Regions from separate parts of the Homo sapiens genome. Here all the other regions are linked to region 5. The links are contacts of gene promoters, found by promoter capture Hi-C in blood cells and fetal thymus (Javierre and others, 2016). All regions are on one chromosome and are shown on one strand. The core of a region is centred on a gene start or on the middle of the fragment in contact, and the rest is flanking DNA. Distances in the headings are between cores, read along the strand shown.

Region 1 (2,700 bases), core at 181-2,680, 280 kb before region 5:
CATCAGTCCAAGAGCTTTTATTTGGAAACCAGTGACTTGTCATTCTTTTTTGACCCAATAACCTTGACAGTGATTATTACTACCCTGATTTTATAGATTGCAAAGAGTAAAAAACAGGACTAAAGGAATTCACCCGCATATAACCCCTTACCTACATTGGTAAACAATGAAGCCAAGGCTTGAACCTGTATCTGTCTCCAAAAGAGCTTAAAGAGCTTTTTTTTTTTTTTTGAGATGGAGTCTCGCTCTTGTCCCCCAGGCTGGAGCACAGTAGCTGGATCTTGGCTCACTGCTACCTCCACCTCCTGGGTTCAAGCCATTCTCCTGCCTCAGCCTCCCAAGTAGCTGGGATTACAGGCTCCTACCACCACGCCCGGCTAATTTTCGTATTTTTAATAGAGACAGGGTTTCGCCATGCTGGCCAGGATGGTCTCGAACTCCTGACCTCAAGTGATCCACCCGCCTAGGCCTCCCAAAGTGCTGGGATTATAGGTGTTAGACACAGTGCCTGGCCTGCCTCCAAAAAGATCTTAATGCTGAAGCTACCATCATCACCTCTGTCTTCACAACTAAGAATAACCAATCTTCCCAGGAAATATGGCAACAAACTAAACATCTTAGCTGCCAAACAGAAACTAAAGGCAAGACATTACCCAGCTTCTTAAGAGAATGGAAAGCAAGTGATGGTACTCAGTCCTGGGATTCCTGGCTGTTTTTTGTTTGTTTTGACACGAAGTCTCACTCTCACCCAGGCTGGAGTGCAGTGGGGCGATCGCTGCTCACTGCAACCTCCACCTCCCAGATTCAAGTGATTCTTGTGCCTCAGCCTCCCAAGTAGCTGGGGCTATAGGTGTGCGCCACCACACCTGGCTAATTTTTTGTATTTTTAGTAGAGACAGGGTTTTACCATGTTGGCCAGGCTGGTCTCAAACTCCTGACCTCAGGTGATCTGCCTACCTCGGCCCCCCAGTGTGCTCGGATTACAGGCATGAGCCACTGCACCCACCTCTAGCTGTTTTCCAAGTCCTCAGCAGAATACAGGGTAACCTAGATACCTCGTCACTTTGTTTCTAATCCCCATCTACCCACTGCCAAATGGATTTTCCATAAACTTCACCTGCTTATAGAGCCACAACAGGGTGCAGACAACTGTGATGTCAGCCAATGTCACTCGTTCGCCCACCAGAAAAGTCCTCGTCTTCAAGTAAGCATCCAGCAGCCCCAGAATTCGCCTCACTTCCTCCTTTGCATTCTCAGTGGCCTAGTGATTCAACATGATAAAACTCATCAGTGGGTACCAATCCCTTTCCCTCACCTCCCCCATTAATAGAACTAAGAGGGCTATTTTCACCTAGAAGTCTGAGCTCACCCTCACTCTCTTTCAATGGAGGCAGATCCTAGGGTCATTCTAAATGTATTACAAACAATGAACTTCAGAGGTCCTCTGGTCCAGCCACCCCCTTACCATTTGGTATAATCTCTTCACAGCAGCAATCCCTCTTCTGATCACTCATGACAGACACTTCCTCCATCAACTGCCCACTGCTTCAAACTCGTACCCTAGAGATTACGTCTTCTCATTGCCTACATATCCTTGGCATCTTTTTTTCAACCTATTTTATTTCTTACTCCCAACACCCAGGAGCTGATGCCACCCCTGCCCCTGGCTTCTCTCAAAGTTCCAAGGCTCACCTGTTTGTTGTGGTGCATGATGCCCAAGGTGGGGAACACCCAGGTACTGGCTGGGGGCACTATATCGGAATCAGCAAAGCTCACCCACTGCACCACCTGGGCTGCTGCCTCTGGAGTACTTCCCCGCAGCTCCTCATTGCTCACTGCAGAGGCAGAACACGAAGGTCAGAACTCTGGGGGAATGCCAACACCAGTCCAGGTCCTGGAGAATTCCTTCATATCCACCCCCGCTCACACTTATCCTCTCCTACACCCTCACCTCCAAATTCTCCCATTCCCATATACCCCTGCAAATTACCATAGTAGGCAATGGCGTTGCTCTCAAACACACAGAATCCATCATCACCCTCAAATGCTGGGACCTGGGGACAAAGCAGTGAAAAGATAAGGTAAAACACACAAAATTTCTTCCTAACCAATACCAGGAGCCAAACTGCTTTGAAAATACTTATATAAGGCTGATGATTCTCACTATCCAAACTCTTGATACTCAAGAACCATAAATAAATACTTCAAGAACTTGGCCTCCTTTGCAATCTGAATTCACAATGTTAACTAGGAAGCCCAATAGATTTGAATATTACAGGATATTTGTATGAAATCTCTGGATCAAACAAGCAGAAGGCCAAAAGCAACTCCTGTATCAATGTCTGTATCAGTTAAAGTATTAGTGTGTGACCCAGACCCACACAGCACTTCATCTCCTCCATTCTTAGCATGTTTCTTCACCTATCTCTATAAACCCCTTGGGGTAAGAATTCTGCTCATAACAGATATCTGATATATTTGCACTGAAAATGCTTAGTCAAAACTCATTCTCTTTCCCACAAAGTAAACTCGTGAATTTTATAAAGTCACAGAATAGCTCTGTATTTTTTTTCACAACTACATGTAAATCTGTATTTATCTCAAAATAAAATCACCGAAATTGAATAAAACAACATGGGAAGCTCCCTTTTAGAGATGGGGGCCACCACCAGAGTGACAGAATCGCAGGGCCTTGGTTTC
Region 2 (2,700 bases), core at 199-2,698, 260 kb before region 5:
ATGTGGGGCCAAAGAAGACTCCTAGGTTTCTGGCTTGGCTTACTGGATGAACAGTGATAGTGCCATTCACAGTGAAAAGGAAGAATGGAAGTAAACCCTGTTTAGGGAACACTGTGATTCCAGACTTCAAAAGTAGGGCTGGGCACATTGGCTCACGCCTGTAATCCCAGCACTTTGGGAGGCCAAGATGGGAAGATCGCTTGAGGCCAGGAATTGGAGACCAGCCTAGGCAACATGGTGAAAACCCATCTCTACAAAAAACTAAAAAATTTGCCAAGTAGGCCGGGCGCGGTGGCTCAGGCCTGTAATCCCGGCACTTTGGGAGGCCGAGGCGGGCGGGTCACGAGGTCAGGAGATCGAGACCATCCTGACTAACATGGTGAAACCTCGTCTCTACTAAAAAATACAAAAAATTAGCCGGGCGTGGTGGCGGGTGCCTGTAGTCCCGGCTACACGGGAGGCTGAGGCAGGAGAATGGGGTGAACCCAGGAGGTGGAGCTTGCAGTGAGCCAAGATCGTGCCACTGCACTCCAGCCTGGGTGACAGAGTGAGACTCTGTCTCAAAAAAAAAAAAAAAAGAAAAAAGAAATTAGCCAAGTATGGTGGTGCACACCTGTAGACTCAACTACTTGGGAGGCTAGCCAGGGGTATGGTTTGAGCCCGGGAGGTTGAGGCTGCAGTGAGCCAAGATCACACCACCGCACTGCAGCCTGGGTGACAGAGCAAGACCTTGTCTCAAAAAAAAAAAAAAAGTGGAATTTGAAGTTACAGTGAACCCCTTGTGTGTCATACAAGAACCTTGTCTATTTTTCCAAACCCATCTTCTGTCTCTTCCTCACTGGTACCTTATGGTCTAGTCATTCATGCCACACCTATTTCATCCATCCCCTCCTTTGAGTAGGTCCTCTGTAGGGCTTCTCTGATTTAGTTACTAATTCTCTGTGGTCCCACAGTTCTCCGAACATATCTATAAAGCATTGAAACTTTCTCATTCTCTAGACGGTGAGCTCCTTCATCTCTGAACCCCCCTCCCCCACCCTAAAGATCAGCAGAATACCAGGCACAGAGCATATGTCCAATAGATGATGGTTAAAGAAGTAATAAAACAATTAAACTTGCGTTGTGGAGATTTCATATACTGAGGAGTGTAATGTGGTGGAACTTTCCCGACTCTCCAAATCCCCTCGGACTTGCAGAGAAAAACGGAGGTGAGAGACCCTACCAATCAACTTGACAAGAACGACTGACTACCTATAACCCTAACTTTCGCCAGGATCAAAAGACGAAAGCCCGCAACCACCCCCGGGTCCCTCACTAGCCACCGCTTACGGTTGGCTGTAGTAACGTGGCAGAGGCAGCAGCGGAACCCCCCACGCGGCAGCGATTCGACATCCGAATCCACCGCCGCCATAGCGACTCTCCTGTACCGACAAAAACACAAGCACCTCTGCCACCACCGGAACCCACTTCGCCAAAGCTCAACGCGCTCGGAAGCAACTTCCGCCGATCCGATAGGAAGTGACATAAAGTCGTTCAATTGCGCGGACACACTCCTCCGGAAACCAAGCTCCTTCGACTCTGGGTTCCGTTTCTAGCCGCTGTCCAGTCCCCGCCCGTTTCAGGAAAAGCGGCGCGTTACGATGCTTATCTGCATGCGGTAAGCCGATTGGTGTGCTTTAAGCTGTTCAGACGTTGATTGGCCCAAAGCATCGTGAATATTCATGACAGCAGCCACAAAGGCCGGCGCCGGGTGGCATCTTGCGGCAGCTCCTTCACCCCGCAGTAGACACCCGTGCGTCTGTACCCTCGACCCTTATTTACCCGACGAATAAAGGCGGAGGATCGGCGGCTTCCAATTCTTTGCCCCACGGAGCCCAGGGCTGTCCCTGGACTTCCAACCTTTTCAGGGCTGTTACTCCCTCCCTCCGCCCCCTGTCCTCCCGCAAAACGGGTGTTCTGCGACGGCTTCTAGCCCTGGTTGGGGAGCTCTGCCACCACCGGGCACCTTCCGGACTCCACGAGGTCCTGGAGCCAGGCCCATTCCTTCCGCAGTAGTGGGCTGCGTGGTGTACGCCGGAGGCGCCAGAGCTACTGGCGCACCTCAGAGCAGTGCGACAAGACAAAACCGAGTGCCAGTAACTGAGTTTAGACACTGGAGGGGGCGAATGCTGTCAACCCCCTCCTGGTATAATTGTCAGTTCATCCCAACGCCGCCGAGGTGTAGGCTCAGGACAGGGAGGGACTACGGGGAGCTGGGGATGCCCTAGGGACAGGGACCATAACGAGGTGGAGAGAACTATCAGATGGGCTCAGCAGCTTGTGCTGTGGTTATCAGCCCACAGCTTTGAATGGCGCAAAGAGCAGTGGACCTAAGGCAGACACCAAGGTCTTTGACCTTGAACAAGTCACAACTGTTGAGGCCGTTTCCCATCTCTAAAGGAAGTGCCCAAGGAGCACACAGCAGGCTGAACTTCTTGTTCTCTATCCTAAGGTGTTCCTTCTAATGGGCCCAGCTCAGGCATCTAATCTCAGTGTCCCAAACCTTTAAGGCAGGAAACAGTGCTACAGTGGATCGGGATATCATCGAGACTGGCCTTGAGGATCCTGAAGCAGCAGGCTGTACACATACACCCAGAGGTGCTAGGGTGGTTCAGTGGTAGAATTCTCGTCTGCCAAATACACCACACAGCTAGGTGAGGG
Region 3 (2,788 bases), core at 30-2,529, 300 kb before region 5:
CTCACAGAGGCAAGAGTCAAAGCTTCCGCTAGCATTTAAGCCTCATGAGGACAGGGTTCTTTCTTCTCTGCTGTATGCTTTGTGCCTAGATTAACTGATTTTTTGTTTTGTTTTGGTTTTTTGCTTGTTTTTTTTTGAGACAGTCTCACTCTGTCGCCCAGGATGGAGTGCAGTGGAGCATTCATGGCTCACTGCAGCCTCAACCTCTCAAGCTCAAGTGATCCTCCCACCTTAGTCTCCCAAGTAGCTGGGACTACAGACACACACCATCATGCTCAGCTAATTTTTTTTTTTTTTTTTGGTAGAGATAGGGTCTCACTATGTTGCCCAGGCTGGTCTTGAACTCCTGGGCTTGAGCAATCCTCCCACCTCAGCCTCCCAAAGTGCTGGGATTATAGGTGTGAGCCACCGCACCCTGGCCCCTCATGCCTAGAGCACTGACTGACACATAGCAATCACTCAAGAGCATGTTTCAAATGAATGAATGAACTCCAGGTATAACTGGCTCCAAAGCCCTTGCCTTTTCTACAATAGATAGCATCCTGCATCCCAGGCTGTCACAACTTCCTCTGGCTCTCAGCCCCCAGGGAGCAATTCCTCTACTTGTGGGTCTTTCTTGCAGCTACCCAAACATTTATTGTGTGTCCAATATGGGGTTGGGGAACTGTGGTGGTGGTGGAAGCAATAGAGACCTTGGCAAGATGGAATCCCAGCAAAAAGCTCAGTCCAGGCGGAAACGGCTCCGATACCCCTTTACCTTGTCCTTTGAATTCCTTGGAGGTCCTATGCCTCCAGAGAATTGGAGTTATCTTTCCTACCAGGTAATTTACACAGCTACTCCCCCGCCAGCACCCCCCCGACACACTATGTTTTGGGTGTTTTTGTTGTTTTGTTGTTGTGGTGGTGGTGGTGGTGGTTGTTTTGAGATGGAGTCTAGCTCTGTCGCCCAGGCTGGAGTGCAGTGACACGATCTTGGCTCATCTTGGCTCACTGCAACCTCTGCCTCCTGGGTTCAAACGATTCTCCTGCCTCAGCCTCCCAAGTAGCTGGGATTATAGGCACGCGCCACCACGCCTGGCTAATTTTTGTATTTTTAGTAGAGACGGAGTTTCACCATGCTAGCCAGGCTGGTCTCGAACTCCTGACCTCATGATCCGCTTGCCTCAGCCTCCCAAAGTGCTGGGATTACAAGCGTGAGCCACCACACCTGGCCTGTTTTTTGTTTGTTTTTACACACCATGTTTTATAAGGAGTATTAAGGAGTTCTTTCGGTCCCTACTTTGCAAAGAAAACCTCCATCTTCTCGAAGGTTTAGACTCCTCTGTGATATAAAGTAAAGGCTTTCCTCTTATAAGAGGGAGGTCAGCCCTGCCGCTAGTGCTCCACCACCATTCAGAGGGAGCTGGTACCACAGTGCTCCACACGCACTGCCAAAGCTGGATGAGCTCTAGGACTTGTCATCACAGGGATACCCCAGCTTCCCCAGAAGTGACACTGCCTCCCTGGGGAGTGGGGGAGGTTCCCTGATATGTACCTGTTTTGCGTGTGTGTGTATATGTCAGTTTGTGTGTGTGTGCGCGCGTCTGTAATGAACCTTGGGCTCTTCTGTTGCCAGGCAACCTGCCTCTATTTTGTTCCTATTATGCCTGTTTCCATAGTAACCACAAAGGGGAGCTCTGTGGGCAGGCCCCTGGCCAGGGGATTCCCCTTCCCCTCCCTTCTCTCCACAGTCCCCTTTTCTGAAATCAGCATGTTACAAGGAAGAAAAGAGGTTGACTGCTCAAAGGGTAATCTCAGTTTCTGATCCCAGAAGGCAAATGAAGTGTGTGGTCTGTTTGCAGTCTCTTTAGAAGCAGACTTTTCCCCCCATGAAGGTTCTTTTGCATGATATTCTTAGAAGCAGAAAAATGGGCTGTGCCTGGTGGCTCACGCCTGTAATCCCAGCACTTTGGGAGGCCAAGGCGGGTGGATCACTTGAGGTCAGCAGCTCGAGACCAGCCTGACCAACCTGGTGAAACCCCGTCTCTACAAAAAATACAAAATTAGCCGGACGTGGTGGTGCACGCCTGTAATCCCAGCTACTCGGGAGGCTGAGGCAGAAGAATTGCTTGAACCTGAGAGGCGGAGGTTACAGTGAGCCGAGATTGCGCCATTGCACTCCAGCATGGGCAAGAAGAGCAAAACTCTGTCTCAAAAAAAAAAAAAAAAAAAGCAGCAGCAGCAGCAAAGAAATGACTGTTAACCCTTCTTAGCACCATCTGGGATCTCCCAGACCCCGCCTCCACCCCATACACACACCAGCCCAGGGATTAGCATCCCTGCCAAACAGGCCCTTCTCCATTCACTTCCGTCACTTCCTAATCTGTCATTGTCCACCCCACCCCCCAAAAGCAAATCTATCTGGTGATTCTGGAATCCAAACATTATTTCCTAAGCAATTCTCAAGCCCCAAACCCTTAACCCTAGCCGAAAATATAAAGCCAAGTAAAATCATCCTTCCCCAGCTCAATTCAAATCCCAGCCTGTATTTAAACTTCAAGCTTCAAATAAGGAGTTCCTGAATTTCTTAGATCAGAGAGCTTTGATACACAGAAACTCTCCAATTACACTCAGTCCTAATGAAATCTTCAAGCCCAACCAGAACCCAAGTTAAAGCTGGTTAGAGAACAAGAGACATGAGGCTGTCTCCAGAGTACCGTCTGGGAGGAAAGAAGGCAAAGAAAGACTGTCCAGGCAGGTGGAAGGGAAAGAAATTGGGCAGGGAGAGTGGGGCAGGTGGACACGATGG
Region 4 (2,791 bases), core at 209-2,708, 430 kb before region 5:
GTGGTTTTCTTGCTGTCTTCTGTTCCTGGGGAGGATGGCAGAAATGGTTGAGCCAGATTACCAGTCTGGGTTGTGTCAGCTGATCCATCGAATGCAGGGTCTGCAAACTATCTCAAGCACTGATCTTAGGTTTTACAATAGTGATGTTATCTGCAGGAGCAATCTGGGGAGGCTCAGACTCTTGGAGCCAGAGGCTGCATGACCGCTAAACTAAATTTCTAATCTTGTAGCTAATTTGTTAGTCTTGCAAAGGCAGACTGGTCCACAGGCAAGAATGGGGTTTTTTTTAGGGAAATGGCTATTATCAATTTTGTTTCAGAGTCAAAACATGAACTGAATTCCTTCCCAAAGTTAGTTCAGGCCTATGCCCAGGAATGAACAAGGACAGCTTAAAGGTTAGAAGGAAGATGGAGTCGGTTAGGTCTGATCTCTTTCACTGTCATAATTTCCTCAGTTGTAATTTTTGCAAAGGCGGTTTCACAGCCACCCTGTGTGTGTAACCACGAGGCAGATACCTACAGAGCTTCCTTTAGAGTTCCCTCTTAGGGCTGGGTGCAGTGGCTCAAGCCACTGTGGGAGGCTGAGGCAGGCGGATCACCTGAGGTCAGGAGTTCGAGACCAGCCTGGCCAACATGGCAAAACCCCATCTCTACTAGTAATACAAAAATTACCCGGGCATGATGGCGCATGCCTGTAGTCCCCGCTACAGCTGAGGCAAGAGAATCACTTGAACCCAGGAGGCAGAAGTTGCAGTGGCAGAGGTTGCAGAGGCGGAAGTTGTAGTGAGCCGAGGTTGCAGTAAGCCGAGATCACACCACTGCACTCCAGCCTGGGTGACAGAATGAGACTCCATCTCAAAAATAAAAATGAAAAAGAATTCCCTGTTAGGCCCCTGTCACAAAAGTAGGTACTAATCAGCCCTGGGACAGGATAGAGACTTGATCAGAGGCTCCCTGGGAGCTGTGGAAGGAGGAGCAGGCCTTGGGGCATCAGGAGAGGAGAAAGGGTTGCTGGGCTGGGGGATCTCCTGACCTCCTGACCTTAGGCGTCCAGTCGGTCTCTGAGTCCATCTCAACTTACATGGAATTGATCCCTTTATTTTTTTTTATTTATTTATTTTTGAGATAGGGTCTCACTCTGTCACCCAGGCTGGAGTGCAAGGTTGCAATCACTGCTCACTGCAACCTCCGCCTCCCAGGCTCAAGCAATCCTCCTCCCTCAGCCTCCTGAGTAGCTGGGATGACAGGCGCACACCACCATGCCCAGCTAATTTTTGTATTTTTTTTCATAGATACGGGTTTTCGCCATGTTGGCCAGGCTGGTCTCAAACTCCTGGACTCAAATGATCTGCCAGCCTCTGCCTCCCAAAGTGTTGGGATTACAGGCGTGAGCCACCGTGCCCAGCCCTTATCCCCTTCTCTTGACCCTATTGCCAATTCCAAGCCTTCACCATCTGTGACCTGGATCATTGCAAACAGCCTCTACATTAGTTTCTATGGCTGCTGTAACAACTTACCACAGACTTAATAACTTAAAAACACACAAATTTATGATCTTCTCGTTCTGGAGGCCAGATGTCTGAAATGCATTTCACTGGGCTAAAAACCAAGGTGTTGGCAGGCTGCATTCTTTCTGGAGTCTCCAGGGGAGAATCTGTCTCCTTGTTTTTTCCATTTTCTAAAGGCCACCCGCATTACTTGGCTCATGGCCCCTTCCCCATCTTCAAAGTCAGCAGGGCAGCCTCTGCAATTCTCTCTCCGACACTGATCTCCTCTTCTGCCTCCCACTTCCATTCATAAGGATCTCTGTGATTACACTGGGCCCATCAGATACTCCAAAACAACCTCCCCTCTCACGGTCAGCTGATGAGAAACCTTCATCCATGTGCAACCCTAATTCTCTCTTGCCAGGTAACCTAACACATGCACAGGGTCTGGGGATTAGGACGTGGAGATCCTTGAGGGGCCGTTAATCTGCCTCCTAAATAGTCTCTAAGATTTTAGTCTTACTTCCTTCCCATGATTGCCAAAAATCAAACAGGAAGTTCATGCTTTTGCTTAAAATCCTTCCCTCTTCCTGGTCCCCTGTTGGATAAAGTCCAAACCCCTCACCCATCATCAAAGGCTCCTGGAGATGGTGGCCCTGCTTCCCACTGTGGCCTCAAATCCTGCTGCTTCCCACCTACCCTTCACTTTGAGGGTGCAGCAGTGGATGATGCTCGGAAATAAAACTGCCCTCTGAGTAAGGCTTGTCGATTCATGTCGAGGCACAGACGTTCACATTTGAAACAGGCAACAAATCCATGCCATTCACACTTCCACACTTTTGCAGAAACAGTTCCCGCTAACTGAAATGCTTTCCCTTCCCAAAGTCCCTGGAAGAACCAAACTCCATCCTTCATGACTCACTTGGGACATGCTTATACTAAAAATTGTTTCATTATTTATCTAAAATGCACACTTAACGGGCATACTGTATTTCATTTGCTAAGTCTGGCCCCCTTCAGATTCTTTCACGACTTAGTCTGTGGGCTCTTTCTCCCTGTTCTCCCTACCCAGCACTTTGTGCCCTGAGGTTCAGGGGCTCTTTCTGCTGCTGAGCTTCCACGCCCCTAATCTGGGGCATGTATTTACAGTGGGATAAATCATGTATTTATCTTACTATAGCATGTTTGCTTCTAACTGTTGCCTTCTCTAGAATGTGAGTCCTATGAAGGCATGATTCACATTTTAGTTATCTTGCCACTCATTGTAGAAAAATTAGAAAACCCAAGAAAGCAAAAGGAAAATAA
Region 5 (2,736 bases), core at 143-2,642:
CCCATAGAATTCGAAAAACAACTTACTGTAAGATAGAGGCAGACTGTCATCAGGAATACCTGGAAAGGAAAGCAAATTAGTTATTTTAAGGTATTAGGATGGAATGAAGCTTATTCATAAACAACAACTGCCATCAGAACTCTAACATGCTATTAACTTTTGTACCTCACAGAACATCAGCTTATCAATTCAAATCATCTGACAGTAACGTGATCGATATATGGATGAGGGTAACAGCACACCCTTACAAGAACTGTAGTACCGGGTTGCGATCTCCCTCCCCAGAAAATCATTTCAAGAGGAACAAGATGGAAGGCGCCAAAAAACATTGTTCCGCCGGCCACTTGTTTTCTTGAACATTTACAAAGATGACATACACCAATTTGGATAATTACCTGTATTCACCCTGGGAGGCAGCTGAATTCCCCAGGATAGATTATGAGATGCTGTAGACAACAGAGGAAAGCATTTTATGTACCTAAAAATAGTCATTCAAAGACCCCTTAAGACCTCTCTCTCACTTCTCAGTAGTAAGATGACATCACTTGAAAGTTCAGCCATATGCTTGTCATTTTGTGTTCATCATGGAGTGGTTATCTACAAGGTCTCCTCTGTAAGAGCATAAACCATGTACACCTACCTGGAACATTACTGTAACGCTGGCTTTGCATAAAGATGGGTCTTGTCCCATTCCTTCACCAGTAAGCTCTTGTGGGCTGAACATCTGAAAAAATAACACCCTTCACTAACACCTCAGACAAATCAATAGGGCCCTGACATTTGTTGCGTACAGTACAGTGCTACTCAGAATTTTCTGTTTTCTCCACTAATCCATCAGAAAGAGAGAGTTCAGTTCGTAAAATCATCCCCGTAGCAACTTCCACACACTCAACGAAAGAGCAGAGATTAAGAAATGGCCGTAAGAACTTACTGCAACAACAGAGCTCTCTTCGGTTCCAACGTGCGCGTAAATCCTGCAGACAGGAGCCCAATAAGACATTAGGTCAACTCAGGGCATTTCGAAAACGCTATTTTCTGAACAGACGGCTAAGCAAGAGGCTTGCAGGGCCCATCTCCTCAGAGTTATTTATCCTCACGGAGCTCAGTACAGGTCTGTGAAAAGGTCCTCATCATAGGAAGGGGGACCTACACGGCCCGCCATCGCCATTTTGTCCTTCACAAAGCCCCACTGCTACTTTTAAGCCTCGAGGCCACGCACAAGACCTTATCCGCCAGTCGCCCTGGCCAGGCAGCTACAACACAGAAGGCATAGTGCGTGCTATGCTATGTTCGCACAATCGCTCAAAAGAAAATAAAAGAAAAAGACAAAGTACAAAAGAGTAACAGCTATAAAGACCACGAAGCCACTTACCACGAGCAGTAGAAAAATGAGAACGAATCTCCCCGGGGAGACGATTAAATACCATGCCGCAGAGGCCCACGGGATTTGGGGGCGGGGCTACGGCGAGCGCACGCGCATACGTTGACCGCATGCGACCCCGGGGAGTTGTGGGTAGAGAGTTCCAGGGAAGGAGGGCGTAGACAAAGCGCCACCTGAACTTGCGGCGCGAAAAAGGCGCGCATGCGTCCTACGGGAGCGTGCTGGCTCACCGACCGCATTGCGGCTTGGTTTTCTCACCCAGTGCATGTGGCAGGAGCGGTGAGATCACTGCCTCACGGCGATCCTGGACTGACGGTCACGACTGCCTACCCTCTAACCCTGTTCTGAGCTGCCCCTTGCCCACACACCCCAAACCTGTGTGCAGGATCCGCCTCCATGGAGCTACAGCCTCCTGAAGCCTCGATCGCCGTCGTGTCGATTCCGCGCCAGTTGCCTGGCTCACATTCGGAGGCTGGTGTCCAGGGTCTCAGCGCGGGGGACGACTCAGGTACTGGATCCCGGGCTAAGCTCGGGAGGAGGTCCCCTTTGGTGGGGCCATTTCGGGAAAGTATGTCAGGACGTAAGTGCTTCACTGAAGACAGGATCTGATTTTTTCCTAACTGGTTCCCTATGTCCTGCCTTCTGGTGCGTTTTCTTTAGATCTTGGACTACTACGGGCCAACATTAGCTAACATTTATGGAGCACCGTTTTAAGCACACTATATGAATCGATTAATCCACCAAAATCCCAAGAGCTAGGTAGGATGACAACCCCCATTTTATTGATGGGGAACCCTAAAGAGCTCCGGCGGTGCTGCCTGCTGCAACTCCTGCCTGATCAATATGGTTGCAGTCAGCTATAGACTGTTTTACTGAGACCGGACAACATTAGTTCAGTCGTTTGTGGTAAACATCTACGTGTACAAGCACACTTTATAAACATTTTTTTCTTTCTTTTTTTTTTTTTTTGAGACGGAGTTTCGCTCTTGTTGCCCAGGCTGGAATGCAATGGCCCGATCTCAGCTCACTGCATTCCACCTCCCGGGTTCAAGCAATTCTCCTGCCTCAGCCTCCTGAGTAGCTGGGATTACAGGCATGCGCCACTGTGACCGGCTAATTTTGTATTTTTAGTAGAGACAGGGTTTCTCCATGTTGGTCAGGCCGGTCTTGAACTCCTGACCTCGGGTGATCCGCCTGCCTCGGCCTCCCAAAGTGCTGGGATTACAGGCGTGAGCCACCGCGCCCGGCCAAACATTTTTTTCTTTCAAGACGGAGGCTTGCTCTGTCGCCCAGGCTGGAGTGCAGTGGCGGGATGTCTGTTCACTGCAACCTCCGCTTCCCAGGTTCAAGCGATT

The links. Contacts are between HindIII fragments. The CHiCAGO score rates a contact against its expected background, and 5 or more counts as called.
Region 1: a fragment that was not itself captured here is called in contact with the fragment with the promoter of SNHG1 in region 5 in 11 of 17 cell types (naive B cells, activated CD4 T cells, total B cells and 8 more); the score reaches 13.8 in naive B cells.
Region 2: a contact is called between the fragment with the promoter of TUT1 here and the fragment with the promoter of SNHG1 in region 5, in 14 of 17 cell types (naive B cells, total CD8 T cells, naive CD4 T cells and 11 more). The highest score is 14.5, in naive B cells.
Region 3: a contact is called between a fragment that was not itself captured here and the fragment with the promoter of SNHG1 in region 5, in 7 of 17 cell types (activated CD4 T cells, naive B cells, total CD8 T cells and 4 more). The highest score is 7.7, in activated CD4 T cells.
Region 4: a contact is called between a fragment that was not itself captured here and the fragment with the promoter of SNHG1 in region 5, in 6 of 17 cell types (naive B cells, total B cells, total CD8 T cells and 3 more). The highest score is 8.2, in naive B cells.

What each region holds. Positions count from the first base shown.
Region 1 is chr11:62,569,848-62,572,547 of GRCh38, forward strand. EEF1G (eukaryotic translation elongation factor 1 gamma) reads right to left here. Exons shown (of 10, transcript NM_001404.5): 3 at 1,991-2,054; 4 at 1,693-1,835; 5 at 1,118-1,261. Among named protein-coding and RNA genes, the nearest start is that of EEF1G, 2.7 kb to the right of the region's middle. The HindIII fragment of the contact is 3,344 bases long and covers 1-2,700 here.
Region 2 is chr11:62,590,075-62,592,774 of GRCh38, forward strand. It overlaps TUT1 (terminal uridylyl transferase 1, U6 snRNA-specific), which reads right to left and starts at 1,449. Exons shown (of 9, transcript NM_022830.3): 1 at 1,330-1,449. The coding sequence starts at 1,411. RefSeq lists enhancers at 1,259-1,954, 1,371-1,600. The HindIII fragment of the contact is 7,198 bases long and covers 1-2,700 here.
Region 3 is chr11:62,550,327-62,553,114 of GRCh38, forward strand. No RefSeq gene overlaps it. Among named protein-coding and RNA genes, the nearest start is that of AHNAK, 4.9 kb to the left of the region's middle. RefSeq lists enhancers at 845-1,650, 1,651-2,456. The HindIII fragment of the contact is 2,518 bases long and covers 21-2,538 here.
Region 4 is chr11:62,428,976-62,431,766 of GRCh38, forward strand. No RefSeq gene overlaps it. Among named protein-coding and RNA genes, the nearest start is that of SCGB1A1, 11 kb to the left of the region's middle. The HindIII fragment of the contact is 7,397 bases long and covers 1-2,791 here.
Region 5 is chr11:62,854,493-62,857,228 of GRCh38, forward strand. It overlaps SNHG1 (small nucleolar RNA host gene 1), which reads right to left and starts at 1,393. Exons shown (of 9, transcript NR_152585.1): 1 at 932-1,393; 2 at 641-724; 3 at 27-59. SNORD28 (small nucleolar RNA, C/D box 28) reads right to left here and starts at 203; the gene lies at 129-203. It overlaps SNORD27 (small nucleolar RNA, C/D box 27), which reads right to left and starts at 591; the gene lies at 520-591. SNORD26 (small nucleolar RNA, C/D box 26) reads right to left here and starts at 874; the gene lies at 800-874. It also overlaps SNORD25 and a transcript of SLC3A2 not described here. RefSeq lists enhancers at 1-499, 1,137-1,216, 1,327-1,506, 1,475-2,448, 2,449-2,736 and a silencer at 1,567-1,626. The HindIII fragment of the contact is 3,291 bases long and covers 108-2,736 here.